Regions from separate parts of the Homo sapiens genome. Here region 1 is linked to region 2. The links are contacts of gene promoters, found by promoter capture Hi-C in human tissues and cell types (Jung and others, 2019). All regions are on one chromosome and are shown on one strand. The core of a region is centred on a gene start or on the middle of the fragment in contact, and the rest is flanking DNA. Distances in the headings are between cores, read along the strand shown.

Region 1 (3,318 bases), core at 215-2,714, 290 kb before region 2:
TGGGGTTACAGGCAAGCCACCACACCCATCCAATTGCAATCTATTTTAGGTGTTTTCTTTGTTATTCTCTCCTGAGTGTTCTATCAGGTGGGAATAACAAAGGCTATAAAATATGCAGTCTTTAAATGTTAGGATTTATTTTCATATAGAGAAAGATCATGAAATATTACTAAGAATACATTGCAGTCAAGTTATTCCGTTTTACTTGGGCCCTGAAAAAATATAACTAAGTTATAAAATTGGCTGGGCACATTGACTCACACCTGTAATCCCAGCACTTTGGGAGGTCGAGGCAGGTGGATGACCCAGAGGTCAGGAGATTGAGACTAGCCTGGCTAACATGGTGAAACCCCATCTGTACTAAAAATACAACAATTAGCTGGGTAAGGTGGCACAAAACTGTAATCTCAGCTACTCAGGAGATTGAGGCAGGAGAATCTCTTGAATCCAGGAGGCAGAGGTTGCAGTGAGCAAAGATCTCACCACAGCTCTCCAGCCTGAGCAAAAGAGTGAGATTCTGTCTCAAAAAAATAAAAATAAAAATAAAATGAAATTATAAATCACCTCATTTCTGCATGTAATACTTTTATGACTATATCTGTAAGTTAACATGTACTATGAACTATGTTTTTCTCCCACATCCCTAGCTATGGAAGAATTCATCTATCAAACACTAGTAATTAGCTAAAATATGATTACATTTAGAAGGGAAATTAGCATATCTAGAATATTAGCAAGTTTAAAAAAGCATAATGTCGTCAGGCATGGTGGCTTGTGCCTGTAATCCGAGCATGATGGGAGGCTGAGGCAGGAGGATGGCTAGTGCCCAACAGTTGGAGTCCAGCCTAGGCAACATAGCACCTCATCTTTATGTTTTAAAAATTAATTAAGTTACTTATTTATTTTTGAGATTGAGTTTGGTTCTTGTTGCCTAGGCTGGGGTGCAATGGCACGGTCTCGGCTCACTGCAACATCTGCCTCCTGGGTTCAAATGATTCTCTTGCCTCAGCCTCCCAGGTAGCTGGGATTATTGGTGCTCGCCATCATGCTGGGTTAATTTTTGTATTTTTAGTAGAGACGGGGTTTCACCGTGTTGGCCAGGCTGGTCTCCAAATCCTGACCTTCCAAAGTGCTGGGATTACAGACATGAGCCACCGTGCATGGCAAAAAAGTTTATTTTAATCAGAAATAATTAATAAATAGAACATGATAATGGGTACAAAAAATAGAATAAGACCTATTATTTCATAACACAACAGAATGACTGTAGTCAATGATTAAATTGTACATATAAAAATGGGGATGGCCAGGTGTGGTGGCTCAAACCTATAAGCCCTGTCTCTACCAAAAATACAAAAAAAACTGGATGTGAGCCTGTAATCCCAGCTACTCAGGAGACTGAGGCATGAGAATCACTTAAACCCAGGGAGCAGAGGTTGCAGTGAGTGGAGATTGCACCACTGCATTCCAGACTGTGCGAAAGAGCTGGACTCCATCTCAAAAAACTAAACAAATGGCTGGGCACAGTGGCTCATGCTTGAATCCCAGCACTTTGGGAGCCAAGATGGGTGGATCCCCTGAGGTCAAGAGTTCGAGACCAGCCTGACCAACATGGTATAACCCTGTCTCTAAAAAAATACAAAATTAGCCGAGGGTGATGGCGCATGCCTGTAATCTCAGATATTCAGGAGGCTGTGGCAGGAGAATCATTTGAGCCAAGAAGGCAGAGGTTGCAGTGAGCTGAGATCGCACCACTACACTCCAGGGTACACAAGAAGAGTGTAACTCCATCACACACACACACACACACAAAATGCTATAAACAGAACATCAGAAAAAAAATATAGAAAGTCACATGTATTTAAAAACCTTAAGCTTTTGAAAGCTGTTTTCCCAAGTAATCAAAAATGAGCCAATAACGATGCAAATATTATCTTTTTGTTTTTTGTTTTTTCTGGAGACAGAGATCATGCAACTGCACTCTAGCCTGGGTGACAGAGTGAGACTCCAACTCAAAAAAATAAATAAATAAAAAATTATTAGGCCAGGAGCAGTGGCTCTTTGGGAGGCTGAGGTGGGCCAATCACCTCAGGTCAAAAGTTCGAGACCAGCCTGGTCAACATGGTGCAACCCTATCTCTACTAAAAATACAAAAAATTAACCGGGCCTGGTGGTGTGTGCCTGTAATCCCAGCTACTAGGGAGGCTGAGGCAGGAGAATTGGTTGAAGCTGAGAGGTGGAGGCCGCAGTGAGTCGAGATCATGCCACTGCCCTGCAGCCTGGGTAACAGAGTGAGACTCCATCTCAAAAAAAAAAAAAAAAAAAAAAATTACCAATGTCAACTGAACTTGGAAAGCACCACACATTTGCACACTCACACAGACACAACCCTCTGATATGGCTCTAGACCAAATCCACAGGTTAAAAAGCCCTCAAATGAACTCTTGGGCCTTAAGCCTTTCAAAAGATCACCTGTTTCCTGTGAGGTTGGGGCTGTGGCCCTGATGTGTGAAGACTTAGGACCATCCTGTCATCATAGAAACCCTAAACAAAATAAAGAAGGAAATTTACCTCAACAATATAAAAGACCATCCATGAAATGACCACAGCTGAAATAACCAATCAGGAAAAATTGAATGCTTTTCCTGTAGGATCTCACATGATGCTAGAACGTTCTCACCCTTTCTATTCAATCAATACTGACTGTCCTAGCCAGAGCAATGAAATAGCAAAAGAAATCAAACTCATCCAAATCAGAAAGAAATAAATAAAATTTTATTTGTTTGTAGATGACACGATCCTCTGTGTAGAAAGTCACAAAGACTCAACCAAAATACAAGTGGAACTAATAAACATTCAGTGGATTTGCAGAGTACAATATTAGCACCAAAATTAGTTGAATTTCCATGCAATAACAGTAAAAAATTTTAAAAGGAAATTAAGAAAACACTTCCATTTTCTAGAGAATTTAAACTAAGATATACTTAGGAATAAACGTAAAAATGCGAGAAGTTTCTACCTTGAAATCTATGAACATTGATCAAAATGATTAAAAACATAGAGATACAACCAATATTGATAGATTGGAAAACTTAATCTCGTTAAATGATTATACAACCCAAGATGATTTAGATTTAACACAACGCCCATACAAATCCCTATCAGTTTTTGTCAAAGAAACAAAAAACCGGCTGGGAAAAGTGGCTAACCTCTGTTGGCCAGGCTGGTCTAAAACTTCTGACATCAAGTGATCTACCCACCTTGGGCTCCCAAAGTGCTGGGATTACAGGCATGAGCCACCACGGCCAGCTACTCTAA
Region 2 (3,194 bases), core at 497-2,996:
CTCAATACAAGGTACGTAGCCCAGGAAATGACAAACCTACTATGGGTTATAACCCATCTAAGCCTCCTGCAACCACCGTTTTTCAAATAAGATTAAGAACTGGTCCTTTCCTAGGTGACACAAGTAAAATAATAACTAGAACAGAAGAAAAAAGAATCCCCAAACAAGAAACTTTAAATTTGATGCTTGTGCAGCCATTAATAGTAACAAGCTCAGATTAAGATGTGGCTCTCTTAACTAAGAAAGGAGCTGCACAGTAGAAAATAAATGTTTGTCATGAGGCAGAGGTCTGTGAAAATTTGCCTGTTGCCCATGTGTTATTTAGGCTACTTAGAAAAATGACAAAAAAGACCCGGTTCACTTTCAAAAAAAAGAAGCCAACCCCTCCTGTGCTAGCAGTCACTGTAACCCACTAGAACTAATAATCACTAATTCCCTAGACCCCCGTTAGAGAAAAAGAGAAGGTGTAATCCTGACGGTCAATAGGACAAGGGTAACCCCCCAAGTTGCCATTTTAGTCCGAGGGGAGGTCCCCAGGCCCTTTCCCAAACCAGTGTTTCAAGCCTTTTATAATGAGCTAAATCTGCCAGCACCAGAGCTTCCAAAAAAGACAAGGAACTTGTTTCTCCAGTTAACGGAAAATGTAGCTCATTCCCTCAATGTTGCTTCTTGTTATGTACGCGGAGGAACTACTGTTGGAGACCGATGGCCTCAGGAAGCCCGAGAGTTGGTGCCCACTGATCCAGTTCCTCACACAATTCCAGCTCAGAAGGCCCAAACTAGCAACTTCTAGGTCCTAAAAACCTCAGTTATTAGACAATACTATGTAGCTAAGGAAAGAAAAAACTTCAGCAACCCCGTAAGAAAGCTCAATTGTCTAGGACAGAAGTTGTATACAACAGCACAACAAGGACAGTCACTTGGTGAGGCTTAAACCACACTGAAAAGAACTCATTACGTAAATTTTCTAAATTACAGACTGCCTAGGCTCATCCAGAATTTCATTGAGACTGGACGGCCCCCGCTGGACTATACTAGTCCAGGCACAGAGACTATACTATACTATACTAGTCCAGGCACAGGCTATACTAGTCTGTAGGCACAGAGACCCATCTCCAACAACAAAGAAGAAAAGTGAAAATCTGGGTCCTGGCTCTGGGAATCTAAGGCCAATTAATGTGAACTTTGCAAAACTAGACCAAAAGGAATAACCCCATCTCCCCACCCGTAGTAACAAAGGATCAAAGGGTACTCTCCCTGTAGCCCTCCCACTTCCACCACGTCTCAGATGGAAAGGGAAAGAGCCCAGGAGTGGCCACAAAGCACCGGCCACCCTGGGGCTGCGGGGCTGCAACGCTGCGCTCCAGGGGCCGACTAGAGCGAGGCTGGGAAGCGCTCTTGCCCAGGGCAAGAATCCAGCTCCGGGTGAGGACTTGAAACAGCGCGAGGCGGGAGGACGCGTCAGAAAGGGTTTTGCTAAGGAAAGTTTCGCGACAGGAGGTGTCTGCACGGCCCCACTGCAGAAAGACCGGGGACGGGACCAGCCTCAGGGCAACTTTAAACTCAAAAGGAAGCGACTCACGGACTCTCACCCGGACGTTTCAATTTGCTCTGGGTTGAGAAAAGAGGGGCCGGAACCTGCAGGTCTGTGGGGACCCCACGTCCCCTATATAGCAGCACCAGACAACTAGGAAACGCACACGCCGCCGTGCAACTTTCAGTCCACGCCATCCGCTTCCGGGTCTGTGCCAATCGGCGCAGGACAGAAGCGGGACCTGGGCCAGATCCCCGAGAGGTGGGCGGGGCCTGGGCGAGGCCGGGGCGGGGTGCAAAGGACAAGGGGCCCGGCGCGGAAGAGAAGAGTCTTGGGCTGGGAGGAGTCCGCGGGGGCGGGAAAGGGGCGGGGCCTGAGCTTTTCTCCATCTCGCTCTCCGCGCCTCTGTTTTCAAGGTTTTAGAGGTGAAACCCGCCAGTGAGGCTGGAGCAGCTCAGCAGTCAGGGAAATAGTACCTCCCTGAGAAGTCGCCGTGTGGCGGTAATTGGATCCGGGAAAGTTCCTTGCTATTGAAATTTATTTTAGCAATTTAATTCCAAAGCCTGGAAGTTGTCTACGGCAGGAATGCAAACTAGAATGCGAAATGCAAAGCCTTGCCTGAGCGAAAGGTACAATTTCATGCTGACGGTCCACAGAACAGAATAGAAATCCTCTCCCTTTCAATTCTCCATTCACTGGAGTGGGAGAGTCCACACTGTGCTCAGCTCCTGAGACTTCCCTAGGGCCACCGTCTGGGGTGCGGAGCAGAGGAGTGTGCTTAAACACAGCAGGGATGCGGGCGGGGTGGCAGGAGTCTGGGGTCCCCGCTACTCAGGAAGCAGGGGCGAGAGGATCGCTGAGCCTGGAGTTCCAGGCCAGCCTGGGCGACAAAGTAAGACCCTCTATCCCAGAGCTCCCTCCTCCGTCTCAATAAACAAAAAAGTGATTTAAAAAAAGCACTGACATTGTAACAGTGCATATAAGTTGCCCAGTTGTTTCTTACGTTTATTATTTCATGCTGCACTTAAAATGAGTTATTTTTGTCGTGGAAAAGAATCAAACTGTAAAATATCTTAAGAGATTTATTCTAAGCTAAATATGAATGACCCTCAGGAGGTCCTGAGAACATGTGTCCAAGGTGATGGGGAACAGCTTGTTCTTAGACATTTTAGGGAGGCATTAGACATCAATCAAATACATTTAAGAAATACGCTGCTTTGGTTCAGAAAGGAGGGGCAACTCAAAGCGGGGACTTCTGGGCTACAGGTAAATTGAAACATTTTCTGATTGACAATTGGTTGAGTTTGTCTAAATACCTGGGATCAACGGAGAGGAAATGTTCACGTTAAGGTAAAAGATTGTGGAGACCAATGTTGTTTTCAAGTCTTCTATTGGCTGCCCTTAGAGATAATAGATGATAAGTGTTTTCTATTCAGACCTTTAAACAGTGCGAGATTCTTACTTAATCTCTTCAGGATTGGTAGGGCCTAGAAGAAAAAGATCTAGCTATGTTAACAGAGATTCTTTACAAATGCACATGTACCCCTCACAAAGAACAGCTTTGCAGGACCATTTCAAAATATGGCACAGAAACATGTTTTGGGGTAAAATATTTTGACTTTCTTCTTTGTCACGTTATTCCAGAGTCAGACTGGAAAGT

What was found. Contacts are between HindIII fragments. The study calls those that stand out against the background at their distance.
Region 1: a contact is called between a fragment that was not itself captured here and the fragment with the promoter of ZNF816 in region 2, in 1 of the 25 tissues and cell types used here (liver).

Annotation. Positions count from the first base shown.
Region 1 is chr19:52,671,710-52,675,027 of GRCh38, forward strand. The region is part of intron 1 of LOC122539214 (Zinc finger protein LOC122539214); the gene reads right to left. It also overlaps a transcript of ZNF83 not described here. Among named protein-coding and RNA genes, the nearest start is that of ZNF83, 35 kb to the left of the region's middle. RefSeq lists an enhancer at 2,301-2,800. The HindIII fragment of the contact is 8,097 bases long and covers 1-3,318 here.
Region 2 is chr19:52,961,135-52,964,328 of GRCh38, forward strand. ZNF816 (zinc finger protein 816) reads right to left here and starts at 1,747. Exons shown (of 4, transcript NM_001202457.3): 1 at 1,593-1,747. ZNF816-ZNF321P (ZNF816-ZNF321P readthrough) reads right to left here and starts at 1,747. Exons shown (of 4, transcript NM_001202473.2): 1 at 1,583-1,747. RefSeq lists an enhancer at 1,465-1,714 and a silencer at 1,775-1,974. The HindIII fragment of the contact is 7,894 bases long and covers 1-3,194 here.